Regions from separate parts of the Homo sapiens genome. Here region 2 is linked to region 1. Evidence: promoter capture Hi-C in human tissues and cell types (Jung and others, 2019). All regions are on one chromosome and are shown on one strand. The core of a region is centred on a gene start or on the middle of the fragment in contact, and the rest is flanking DNA. Distances in the headings are between cores, read along the strand shown. Region 1 holds the start of COL5A2 (collagen type V alpha 2 chain). Region 2 has its middle 85 kb from the start of COL5A2.

What was found. Contacts are between HindIII fragments. The study calls those that stand out against the background at their distance.
Region 2: a fragment that was not itself captured here is called in contact with the fragment with the promoter of COL5A2 in region 1 in 2 of the 25 tissues and cell types used here (mesenchymal stem cells and neural progenitor cells).

What each region holds. Positions count from the first base shown.
Region 1 is chr2:189,175,347-189,182,764 of GRCh38, forward strand. COL5A2 (collagen type V alpha 2 chain) reads right to left here and starts at 4,415. Exons shown (of 54, transcript NM_000393.5): 1 at 4,162-4,415. The coding sequence starts at 4,258. The HindIII fragment of the contact is 11,142 bases long and covers 2,470-7,418 here.
Region 2 is chr2:189,261,657-189,268,450 of GRCh38, forward strand. It overlaps a transcript of COL5A2 not described here. Among named protein-coding and RNA genes, the nearest start is that of COL5A2, 85 kb to the left of the region's middle. The HindIII fragment of the contact is 4,538 bases long and covers 2,495-6,794 here.

The sequences.
Region 1 (7,418 bases), core at 3,165-5,664:
ATGCCTAGAAAGTACACGCAATGGCTGGAGCTTCAGCAGCCATTTAGGACCATAAAAATAAATTTAAAAAAAAATACCTAGAGATATGGGAGCCAGGAGAGGTAGAAAAAACCTCAGTCCCTGATGACTTTGTGGAGCCAATATGCCAGCCTTTCACTACCTGCTTAAAAGCATTTCTTTATATTTAAAAAAGAAAACTTTTTTTTTTTTTTTTTTAGACAGAGTCTCACTCTGTCACCCAGACTGGAGTGCAGTGGCACGGTCTCAGCTCACTGCAACCTCCGCCTCCCGGGTTCTAGCAACTCTCGTGCCTCAGTCTCCTGAGTAGCTGGGACCACGCCTACCTAATTTTTGTGCCACCACGCCTACCTAATTTTTGTATTTTGGGTAGGGACGGAGTTTTGCCATATTGGCCGGGCTGGTCTCGAACTCCTGACCTCAGGTGATCCGCCCACCTCGGCCTCCCAAAGTGCTGGGATTACAGGCATGAGCCACTGCGCCTGGCCAGAAAACCTTTTTTTGTTTGTTTAAACTACTGTGTTCTGCTACATGTACCCACTATAAAAGTCTGAATGTCCTACATGTTTCATAGCATGTATTTCAACAGTAATGAGTTTAAAACAATTTATGAGTTAACATGCATCTTAAGCTATGTATACATATTTATACATATTCTGTACCTCCTTTAAAATGATGTCATCCAAATACTACTGAGTGTTAAATATCTGCTTCCTGATTTTTGTATCGTAACAATGAGATAAATGGCAGACATATCATAAAAATGCAAGAGACCATGACATATAAGACTGTGAGCCCCTCATCTCTCAGTAATCAAAAGTTAGCTTGGGTCCAGGAGGATATCAGTGTAGGATTGCAACATGATGGCTGTAAATTCATGGGCCGGGAGCCAAATATATACTCAGATATATTTTATTTGTCATATGCAATATCTTCTGAAAATGTTAATTCTGAATGCCTTAAAGTGGACATGCACCTTCAGTTCTCCACAGGCCCCATCATCACCTATTGATGTACAAACACTGGCTTGCTTCACTTGTTTATATTACCTGCCTGGCCTCTGAAAGCATTGAGGTTTACAGTATTTGGAAACAAAATGATACATTTCTGCACCTTCCCTTCTCCATTGCTTATCCCATGTTGAATACAATGATTCATAACAAAGATTATTTTCTAAAATTAAGCATGCCTACTTCTAATAACAAGAATATATATAGCTCACTAGATGCTAGGCATTAACTTAGGAATATAAATACACTGTAAATGCTCTAGCATTTTCCTTAACACAAATGTGGAATCTTTTGAAGACCACCACCCCAATGCACACACACTCTCACCACACGCACACACACACGCACACACACTCTTTAAAAGCTGATTTTGTCATTTTAACTCCCTGATTTTTCACACACACACATACACCCACACAAACTCTTTAAAAGCTGATTTTTTTCATTTTAACTCCCTAATTTTTGTTACGTTAGTTTTAACTAAAGTCAGCCCAACTCCCAAACTTTCTCCTTTCAGTTTCTTATAAATTTAGAAAATCAAATCAGTTCTTAAAACTCAGTGAGAATGGAACTGATTTTGGCTTAAAATGCCTAAAACTTTATTTATTTACTTTTATCTTCTCATTCATATGTTTCTATCAGGCAGGCATACTCAGATTACATTTTACATTTCTGGTAAATAACCACAGTCAAGTAAAGGGAAATATACCCTGAAGTCATAAAAAGAAAGAAAAAAATAAAAACTTATTAATATGCACTTACATGCAAAAACAGATCTCCACATTTCCAAGAAGACATATTTGTACAAAATGTAAATATCACATTATGTGACTGTTATAGATAAAATTTGAAAAATGTACTTGCTTTTCATGTGTGCCTCAGATATTTCTTTAATTTAAAGCATCGATCTAAGCTTACTCTTCCCCAAACTCAAAATCAAATGGAGTTTCTAAATTATGACACCTTTATTAAGCTTGTGATAGGCCTGAACAGGAAAAAGAAAGTATTGCCAAGTATCCATACAATATCAACTTAAACCAAAATATGCATAGTAAGTAAGTACAATATAAGTTAAGCAGCTCTGAATATACTATACTCTGGAATTATTTTCTCTATTATGTTTGATTAGGGCAATGACGACTTTCTTTTGCTGTTGAATTTTTATCACTTATATTCTCTTAAGTTGAGAAATAAAATACTGGAATTTTTTACAACACATATGCAAGCAATTACACATTCTGTAAAATTTGATGTTTGGAATTCCATTTTCTGTGCTATTTGGTTATACTGTTCGCGGGGGGTACTGGGGTTGGATTGGAGTTGGGGACTTTTTTGCATCAAGCATCACATTCCTTACATTTATGTCAATTACTATTAAGAAAAATTATCTGCTCATTTTTCAAAAACACCTACAGAGTAATTATAACTATTTGGGAATGTCTTTTAAAATATGGCTTATTTCATGTACCTTGTGAAACAGTCCTTTCATTTATTCACATATTCAATTATTTCCATACTTTATTAAAGTACTTTATTCATTTTAACATAAATTAACAAAGAAAGTGGTATTAAAGGTTTTAAATTAAAGTTGGTTGTTTTGGTGGGGGAGGGGAGTAAACTGTTCTTTCTAGAGTCAAATTTTCAATTTCTATTGTAATTTTTCTGTGTTTTTCTCCTCCTGTTTTCTTCTACTTTCTATTCAATTATTTTTGCCACCCTTCCAAACAACACATGCTTTTCATGCCATTACAAAGAAACTCAAAAGTTTTCACCTTTTATAAATTACCTCATATTTTAAAAACATAAAACGTAACATAAAAAGCTCCAAGTCTTAGAAAGTGCCCCCTCTATGGGACTCCTGACAGATTGTTGGATATTCATTTACAAATTCGTATTTTCACTTTTTAAGCTTTTTAGAACTTCTGATCTCTAGATTAATTTTATAAACTTTTTGAAACCAAAAACACACAGAAGCAGATATTTGTTCTAAAAATATAGATATATACATAGTATATATACATATATACCTGTATGTATGTGTCTATATATGAAAGTAATAGAAAAGGTTAATGAATGTCCAAAGTTTTAAAAGCTTGAGTTTGATGTTACATGGTTGAGTTGATGAAAATCTACAGTGGCTTATTTTAAAGGAGTACATGTCTGTATTTGAAATTGCAACCCTCAAGATTAAAGATTTAATAGAGGAATCAATTTAAATATTTTCTTATATACTACAACAGCTATGCATTTTTGCTTAACCATACCATATAACCCAACTGTAACATATGAAAATTGCATAGGAAAAAAATGTGGTCACCAGGCAAGATTTATCTTTAAAAAAAAAAAAAAAAAAAAGCTTGGGTCTAAGGGGTAATGTCCATGCAAATATTCCATGCCAAATAAGATATATACAAGACATGCTGATTTCCTGCCTTCCGCCATCCAACCGGGAACCACCACTGTCCTGTTAATCAAGCCAGTAGGGTGGGAAAATACCACTGTTTAAGAAATCTGGCTTCTATCAGCCTCTGTCATGGAGAAACAAACGAGACTGCCTCCCAGTAAGCAAAAGTGATCACATTTTCACAAATGAAAATGGTAAAAAGAAGTTTAAATTGTTAAAGAGGAAAGAATGAGGAGCCAAAGACAAAGAAAAATCAAAGCTATCAGAGTTGCTGCAGAGGTTTTACTAAACAAAGAATTTTATGAAGCAGCTGAAGTTCAGTACAAAAAGACTCCACCCTACCCAGCTTCTGCCGCGACTTTTCCTTGCTCTGAAAACTCCAGCCCACAGAACAGAGCTCCTCTAACTAAAATGCCTTTAGTGCTCCGTTTTAAGCATTCACTCTTTTCTTATTTTAAACGTCCCACTCTCACACTCAGCCAAAAGGACTTATTGTAGGCTTTCCCAGAAAAATTTAGTAGTGTACTCTCTCCAACGGTGGATCTAGAAGCTCCGGATTTACAAACATCCCAATTGTCTTTCAAGTCGTTTTCCAGGTGCAAATCCGTCAGCCCCCTTCTCAAACTTCAAACCAGAACCTCCTCTTCACGCTCTTCCTGAGGCTTAACATTCCACCTATTTCCCAAACCGTGCAATAAACACTACAAGCAAAGCAAATGGCAAACTCACCATCCTCGTCTTCTTCCTGGGCTTTTATTGAGACAAATTGCCCTAATAAAACAATAAGAATGAGGAGAGGTCTTGCTTCCGCCCAGTTTGCCATCATGTCTAAATATTAGACATGTGGGTTCTCCTGAGAGTGAAAAGTAGATTCTGAGGTTATTGTAGCACCATGAAGTCAGCTGTGGGCTCTTCTTTCAGCACCAGCCCCAGGGCAGCCTCTGCAAACCCCCTTTTTCAGCACCAGCTCCAGCACAGTCTGCGAAAACTTTTTTCAAGCGATGCAGCTTTAAATAGGAAGAATGCTGCCTCCACTTCTTTTCCTGCCCCTTTTCAGCTTGTTCAGGCTCATAACCATCCAGTGTCTGCCAAGCAACGGTCTGATTGATGGTAAACAACCAAATCAGAACACGCGTCTCTGTGCCTGAACTTTCCCTATTTCATTTAACTTTTAAGCATAGATGGGGCTTAATAACAGAAACAAACATTTGTTTCTCTTTTCTTTTATTTTTTAAGAAAGGCTGTTAGAAGAAAAGGGTTCTATTTTCCCCTCCCTAACCCTTCCCCCCAGACACACACCCTTTAACTTTTCCCCTATAAGCTGAAAAAGACATTCCGAAGGAAATCCAGCCTTTTACCCTAGTTTTTTTACATTTAGATAATTCAAGACTCTCTTCTCCACCTTAAATCTTTAAACAATCACATTTTAACCCTTTCTTTTGACTGAATAGGGAGTATTCTTATCCCCTTCTCAGATTCGGTTTCTTTTCCCATACTCTGGAAGGAGATTATTAGAATGTTGCCCAGGTAAAGTCCAGGTTAGAAAACCATTTTGGATAAATGAATTTGTGATACATTGTAATTTGAATTAAGAAAGCATGTCCTTTCCTAATTTCTCCACATCTCTTGTTAAGGGGCCACATCTTCAGGTTCCTCTTGTCCCAGAGAGTTTTACCATGTTGAAAAATAGTCTACTAAGCAGTGCAGAGGAATGGGAAGTACTCTACCTTTGGATGAAAAAAGGCTTGCTTCTGCCTTTTGTGAGTGGTTCTGCCACTCAATAATTTTGTAAATGTGCATATAGTCCTTTATCTCTGTGCACTCCAATTTTCTCATTTGAGAAAAGGGCTTTACCCTGACCAGTGTACAGGGTTTAGTGACACTAAAATGAGTAATGTATTATTAATGAAGCTCCAAATTGCAAAGAGCTACATAAAAGCAGATGGTGGTATTATTAGCTTTAAGCCAGCTTTGCAGGGAATATGATAGCCCCAGTTGAACATGCATTTTAAGGAAAATTATCGATGAACTTTTGTGCCACCCTCACACTTGCCAAGATCTTAATGACCTCAGAGAGTTCTATACAATCTAATGTATTTGCCACCTTGAGTCTCCCTAGAATCAGGATGGATGTTCTATACAATACAAGTGAGTCAATTGTTTATAATTATTGGGCAACAGGTGCCTTGCACTGTGCTAAGCACTGGGCAGAAAGGATGACATAAAAGAAATAAAAGACATACCCATCACCTTCAAGGAACATATGTAGGTGTTGAGAAACTAAATTTACAAGAAATAAAGATATATAAGCCAGAGCATATAAATATGTGAGGGATGCATTAAGCCCGGAGAAAGGAGAAATTATCAAATGAGATTAGGCAAGCAAGACATTATTACTGTTCTTAATAGAAGAAATCCAAGAACCTTTGCATTTTAGCTTTGGAACTAGACTCTGGATAAATATTCCAGTGGAGGTCAATTTTCCCGGTTGTTTCCAGCTTCTAACCCTGTACCTCTCAGTTTATCTTTTCATTTAGACATGTCCCATTTCAATGACTTCTGTCACCACCACACTGTTCTCAGGGGTGCCCTTCCACTTAATGAATGGGCTAAGTAAGGACCAAAAATCACCTTTCAGTTAATTCTTTCTAGAATATCTTAGAGAGGCTAGGACTTGAAATCCATCTGACTATATATTCAAAGATAACAGGAAGATAAGTAAATGTGGGGGGGAGGAATTAACCTTTCTCTGAGCTTGCCAGTCCTATTCTACCATGAGGCAATTTTAGACCAATACCACCCTGATACCGAAGGGCTGGCACAATTTTCAGGCACCTTGTGCAGCATTTTTACTGAAGTGCAAGACGGCAGACATTTATGGAGAATCTACAACTCTCAGATCCTATGCTGGAGATAAAACAATGATTAGGCAAGATTGCAGGACTTGTAGCAGAGTCAGTGTATGGAACACTCAGTGGCTGCTCAGATCAGTAGTTTAGTATCTGTTATCTGTTTGTTAATAAAGTTGTTTTAAATTTAACTATAAACATGGCTTATATAAGAAAGGTTAAAACCACCATGCAGTCTCTCATGGTTGCCACCAGTTTCAATCTCCTCTTCCCACCCTACTGAAAGCTCATGGTATGACAGAAGCATAGCAAATATTTGTCAGAAGACCTGAGATAAGTAAATATTCCATATTGTCCTTGTGAACTCTTGAAATCTTATTGCAATCAAGTCATAAATAGCAAAGTATTTTGCAACTTGGGCTTTTTCTCTATGTCTGGTTTTAGGGTCCCACATTACAATTTGGAAAAGACTAAAATATACACAGGTATTGACCAGGAATATCTGTTTAATATATGTGGTTGAATTCAGAATAGAGGACAATGCCATTTCTTAGTCCTTAAAGAACTGATTATAGACCTCACTGCTGCAGTGGGGTACTCAGAAATCTGTCCCAATTCCAGTGAAGCCTATCCTAACAGTGTATGTTTTGTAATAATATGTGCTAGTGGGTGAATATTTTCCAATTCTCACAGCAACCCTGAAAGGTACTTATTATTTTTCTCAAATCATATATAGGCGATTACGGTTCAAAGATGTTTACTTGCTCAAGTTTGCTCACCTAATAAGCAATAAATCTAGGGTTCCACTTCAGTGATGTCTGACTCCAGAGTGAATGTTCTCACCCCTTTTTAGCTCTTTTTAGACCTACTTGACACTCAAACTTCTATTACCACCACACTGTCCCCAGGAGGAGCCTATTTCCAATTAATGAATGGGCTGAGTAAGCACCAAAAATCACCCTTCAGCTACTTCTTTCTGGAATATATGAGAAAATCAGGACTTGTAAACCACCTTGCTAAATATTCAGGAAGAATAACAGAAAAACAAATAATAAAAATCAAAGGTTCTTGTATTTCTTCCACCAAGAAAAGTGATAATGCCTTACTTACCTAATCTCATTTTATAATCTTCCCTTT
Region 2 (6,794 bases), core at 3,514-6,013, 87 kb after region 1:
TCAACTTGTAATACGTGTAGCTCACACTCACACAGAATTTGGGGTAGAGTGTAATGATCCTCCCATCCATTCACACCATCTTTTATTTTGGCCAGTTGCTGGGGCAAAATTGCCATGTCTATCACCTACAGCAGAAATTTGGTCTTCCAGCCAAATATTAGGAAGCACAGTAGTGACTGCTATGGCAACAGACTAAACAGACCATCTAAAAGGTAGCTGGAAGAAGAGGTAAGCTATTTCAAATACAGAGAGGTAGGAAAGTTTAAATTTCTCAAATCCTAAAATATGAAAACCAAGAGCATACACATCATAGTTATGGCAATCTTGATGAAAATATAAATAATTATTTTCTATTATTGTTTTATCAATATTACTTTCTAAGAATTTGTTAAATGACTTAATCTCAGCTTCTAATGAGCTACAAATTCAAAAGAAAATTTCAAAATAATAACGCTTGTCCAGTTTCCAAATGCTGACTCCTTAAATAAGATTACATACAAATAATTTGAAATGATTTCATTCCTTTAGAGTTGTTCCCATCTAGCCTTCCAGTTGAAAAGAAAAATATTAGCAGCACCAAATGTAAGCAACAAAGGAAGAAAGGACACCACCTGTCCAAACCCTACCTTCAGTTTTTTTCTCTGAAAGCTTTTAGTTTTCTTGGTCCTTCCATTATAAACAAACACACACACAGACAGATACACACACATACATGCACACACACACACACATACACACTAGTTTACCAACTTTTTATCAGGACAAAGTTTTTTTAGTCACTTGTACAAAAGTATAAGATGATTGCCTGCTGTATTTGTGGGGTTGGCTGAAACTTTAAAACTGATCACGAAGAGAAACAGCATTTATGGTTCACCGACTAGTTCTCTAAAACAGTGAATCTAAGCCCTGTCTGGCTCAGTCTTCTTTATAAAAAATATTTTTTTAACATTCTTGTACTATCATGAAATTTTCAGAACATATAACTTACACACATACCTAATTTTAAATCCCTATATTGTTCTAATTACATAAGAACAATATAATCTAATTAATCCCTATATTGTTCTAATAAGAAATTTAAAAGGAATTTAAAATAAAATAAGTATTTCAATATTCAGATCCTCAACCATGATGACACTAGATGATGGGGACTAATAAGATTCTCATTATCAACCAATATGGATTTATAATAAGTAGGACAATATTCATCTGGTTATTGCAGATGCATTCTGATATTCAACATCTAGATATAAAAACTAAATTATTATGGTCAGATTAAATGTATGTCACAGTTGCATTCCAGAGAAATTTATTACATATTAAAACTATTCAGAAAATAATTGGTGTTTGCATATATAATGAAGTTGTTCCTATGCTCAAATAATTACAAATGGATTTTGTAATTGAATGACTGGCAAGACCTTCAGTCAAGCAGGACATAGGAGAATTCTTCCCTGCATTCCAGGAAATAAAGCATCTCCAATTTCCAGCCACTTGATGTCGTTTCAATTGTTATAACAAATAAAATGCTCTCAAAAACATCCAAAATTCCCCTAGAGAGAAGTATCCCATCCTCCACCACCAACCTTGAGAACCACAGGTCTAGAAGGAGATAGCTGGGCAACTTTAAACCCATATTGGATGTAAGGTGGGACATGAAGTGTTTCCTTTGGGGAGATTATAACAGAATATATGTGTGCCATTACAAATACAGTCATGTACTGCATAATACTTTAGTCGACAGTAGACAATATATACAATGGTAGTCCCATACGTTTATAATGGAGCTGAAAATTTCCTATTACCTAGTGACGTAGCTTTCCTAACATTGTGGTACAACTCATTACTCACATGTTTGTGGTGATTCTGGTGAAATAAATCTACTATGCTGCCAGTCACATAAAAGTGTAGAGTAATGCCCTAGGTCTTCACATTCACTCACTACTCACTCACTCAGAGCAATTTCTAGTGCTGCAACCTCCATTTATGGTACATGCCCAATACAGGTGTACCTTTTTAAATCTTTTATATCATATTTGTTACTATACCTTTTCTATGTTTAGATAGATTTAGATACACAAATACATACCATTGTGTTACAGTTGCCTAGAGTATTCAGTACAGTAACATGCTGTAAGGTTTGTATCCTACGTGTGTAGTAAGTAATCTAGGTTTGTCTAAGTACACTCTTTGATATTTGCACAGAAGAAATCACCTAATGAAGCATTTCTCAAAATATATCTCCATCATTAAGTGACACATAACTATACTTTCAAGTTCAAAGAATTGGAATATGCAAACTATGCTCTCTGACTATAAAGAAAATAAATCAAAAGTCAATAACAAAGATAAGTTTTAAATTAAGTATGTTCTCTGACTATAAAGAAAATAAATTGAAAGTCAATAACAAATATGTTTTAAATTAAGTATGTAAAAAATCAATTGCATTCTTACATACTAGCTACAAACAGCTAGAAAATACGTGTGTAAGATACAATTTATAATAGCAAAAATACAAAGAATGAAAGAAAATATAACAAAATGTGTAAAATAAGTCCAAGAGATAATATTATAAAATTTTATTGAAATTCATTAAAGAAAATCTAAATAATGGAAAACATTTAGTATGGATATTGAAAGGAAAACGGTATTCTGACCATGTCTGTTTTCAAGTGACATAAATGTGTAACATCAAATGATATACTATGCAGTCATGAAAATGAATAAACTACAGCTTTTTGAAGCAACATAGATAAATCTTAAAAACGTGTTTATAGAAAGAAGGGAAATTCTAAAGCATGTATACTGTTTGATTATATTTGTAGTAAACTCAAAAACAGGAAAAACTAAACTGTATTGTTTAGGGATGCATACATGATGGTAAAACCATAAAGAAAAGCAAAGAGACAGTTACAGTAAATCAGAATGGTGGTTAACTCTAGAGGGAAACAGACAGTGTATAATCACGAATAGCTTCAATAAGATAAATATATATGCAGCCCAATAAAAAAACAGGCAAGATATATGAATCCTTGGACTCATAAAAAGCAATAAAATTTAAATTTTAAGTTATTTCATAGTAAAACTGAAAAGACAAAAATCTTAAAAGCAATCAAAAAGAAAAGACAGATGACATACAAAGAACATTTATCACAAAATAACCTATTCAGAGTACTGAGGAAAAATATTGCCTAAAGAGAAATCTCCACTTAGCTAAATTACTGCACAAGCTGAAGTGTGAAAGAAAAATTTCAGAAAAAGACCTACTGGAAAATTGATCTTTTACTTAAGCAACCACAGTGGTATCGAGGAATATGTAAGATTGGTACTAGTTGCTTGAGCATGGTGAGGGAGCAGGCAGAGAGCCTCTTCAGAAAAGTTGGAAGGGGCCAAAGGTTACAAAAATCCCTGGGGGACCAAGATCATATAAAAACACTAATTCAAAATGAACCAGAGACCTAAGTATTATAAGAACAAAACTACAAAACTCTTGGAAGGAAGCATAAGAGTAAATCATTGTGACCTTAGATTGGGCAATTTCTTATGTGACATCAAAAGAACAATCAGCAAAAGAAAAAAATAGATTTACCAGATTAACATAAACTTGGTGCCTTACAACAACAGATATTTATTCTCACAGTTTGGAAAGCTAGAAGTCCAAAACCAAGGTGTCAGCGGAGCCATATTCTCTCTGAAGGGTCAAAGGAGCCCCCTTCCTTGACTCTCTTTAGCTTGCCACCAACCCTTTGTGTTCTTAACTTGTAGACACAGCCTTCCAATCTCCATCATCAAGTGACGTTCTCCATGTGTGTTCTGTATTCAAATTTTTCTTTTCTTATAAAGACACCAGTCAGTGGATTAGGGCCCATCCTAATCCAGTAAGACCTCATCTCAACTTAATTACATCTTCAAAGACCTTGTTTCCAAATGTGGTTACATTCAAAAGTACCTGGGGTTAAGACTTCAACAAATCTTTTATGGGACATAATACAACCTTCAGGAATCTCAACTTTGATAAAATAATTTCACCAAAGAAGATACACAAATACCTAATAAATGTATAAAAAGTGCTCATTATCATTAGCCACCAGGAAATCAAAATCACAATGTAATACCACTTAACACTCAGAGAAGTGGCTAGACTCATAAAACAAACAAAAACAGGTATTGGTGAGGAAGTGAAGAAACTGAAACTCTCTCATACACTGCTAGAAGGAATGTAAAATGTTGTAGCCACTTTGAAAAACAGTTTGGCATTTCCCCAAATAGTTAATCATAGAGTGACCATATGACCCAAATATTCCACTCTTAAATAAATGAAAACATACGTTTACACAAAAGCTTGTACACCAAAGTTTATATCACAATTATTAATAATAGCTAAAAGGTGAAAACAAGCCAAATGTCCATCAACTGATGAGTGGATAAATATTCATGTGGTATATCCATGCAAGGGAATATTATTCAGCCATAAAAAAGATGTAAAATAGGCTGGGTGTGGTGGCTGATGTCTGTAATCCCAGCACTTTGGTAGGCAGAGATGGGCTGATCATGAGGTCAGGAATTAGAGACCAGCCTGACCAACATGGTGAACCCCTGTCTCTACTAAAAATACAAAAATTAGCGGGGCATGGTGGCACGCACCTGTAATCCCAGCTACTGAAGAGGCTGAGGCAGGAGAATTGCCTGAACCTGGGAGGCGGAGGTTACAGTGAGCCGAGATTGTGCTGCTGCACTCCAGTCTGGATGACAGAGCAAGACTTCATCTCAAAAAAAAAAAAAGATATGAAATATAGATACATGCAACCACATGGATGACCCTTAAAAACTTTCTGCTAAGTGCAAGAACCCTGAAGACATAAAAGGCCATGTATTTTATGATCCTAAATCTATGAAGTGTCCAAAATAGGCAAATATCTAGATACAGAAAGTAGATTAGTGGTTGTTAGAGGCAGGAATGAGGGGAAAATAAGGAATGACTGCTCATGGGAATAGGGTGTGTTTTGGGGATGGGGTGATGAAAATATTCTAAAATTACATATTAGGATGCTTGAACTCTGTGAATATATGAAAAAATACTGAATTATACACTTTAAAGAGGTGAATTTATGGTATATGAGTTATACCTCAAAAGATGTTATAAAAGATATGTTAAAATACTGCTCAAAAGCACTTTCTGTCACTAGGTAGTCAAATGAAATATATAGATAATCTATGACCAGTCATTCTACTCCTAGGTACATATATGCAAAAATTCTTGGACAGTTAACATAAAATCTCTAAAAATATTTGTTATATTAATGAAAATAAATATTATATTAAAACAAATATACATATAATATTAATAAAATGATAAATGAATTGATAAAAAGCATTGGGCTATGAAACCAACAAGAATATATAATACAATGCCAAGAATCTTATGGTGGTGGGTTTGGTTGGCCTATTTGATTTGATAGAGTTATTTTCATAGTTGGCCAAATGACTTTTAGTAAACCACTTATTTTTGACCCTAAAAGCATTTCTGTAAATATAAATATAATGTAAGACACACATTGCCTGCATCCATACTCTTGCCTTGGTAGGAGTCAGATGAAGTATACAGATAATCTATGACCAGCCTAGAAGGTATATTTTTCCAAAAATTCTTAGACTGTTACATAAAATCTCTAAAAATATTTATTATAGTGTAATATGTAGTACTGGCAAGTTGGAGGCAACCTGGGTGTTCATCGCTACATATTTGCTTATTAAAAATACAATCACAAAACATTCATCTTGCAAAAACACATACAAATGAAAAGGAACATGCTAAATGCATTTTTTAAATAATTGCCTAAGAAGAAGAAAATAGGAGCAATAAATATAGGAATAAAAGAGAACTAATTATTTTCATGTAACGTACCCATCATTTTTAAAAAGCAATAGAATAAGAAGGCCAGGAAATTGGGGAATGAGGATACTGAATGTGGAGCACAGTGGGGTTGATGCCTGAGACTGGACTTTTACATGCTCCTGGAGACATGATTCACAAAGGCAGGGTGACTCCTACCAAGTCCAGAGTAAATGCGGGCAATGTGTGTCTCACATTATATTTATATTTACAGAAAAGCTTTTAGGGTCAAACATAAATGGTTTACTAAAAGTCATTTGGCCAACTATGAAAATAAATCAAGTAGGCCAACCAAACCCACCACCAAAAGATTCTTGGCATATATTATATATTCTTGTTGGTTGCATAGCCCAGTGCTTTTTTATCAATCCATTTATCCTTTCATTAAATATTTTTATACATTATGATTCCTTCTGTATTATCTTTATTGACTATTTAATACAAAGATGCATCTCCAGATATGTGGGCTTTATATGTTTCCCTATCCCAAAGTGGCATTAAAAATTATGTTATCCACTGTCTTTTTACATTCAGTAAATAGTATTCAGATAGAGTTCTGGTTTTATTTGTTCCCATACTCTTTGAGTCACAGTACTTTTGAAATAAATTTTAAAAGGAAGTTCTTCATTAGTATGAACTCTTTGTTTAGTCAGAATTACAACCATCAAACTAAGAGTTCTAAGAAAATTGGCATTGTTTCCACAAGAAACAAATGGTATCACTTCATTTTTAAGATATAACATTCTCTTCTCTTTGGATAAAACATTTTGTTGCCTAAAATTGTCAGTAGTTCCAGCACCATTTCTCTGGCTAACTGAATATGTGGCAGAAGTTTAAATTGTTTCCAGACCTCATGCTATTTTTATATTAGTCATCAGAAAAAATTCTATTCAGCATACTC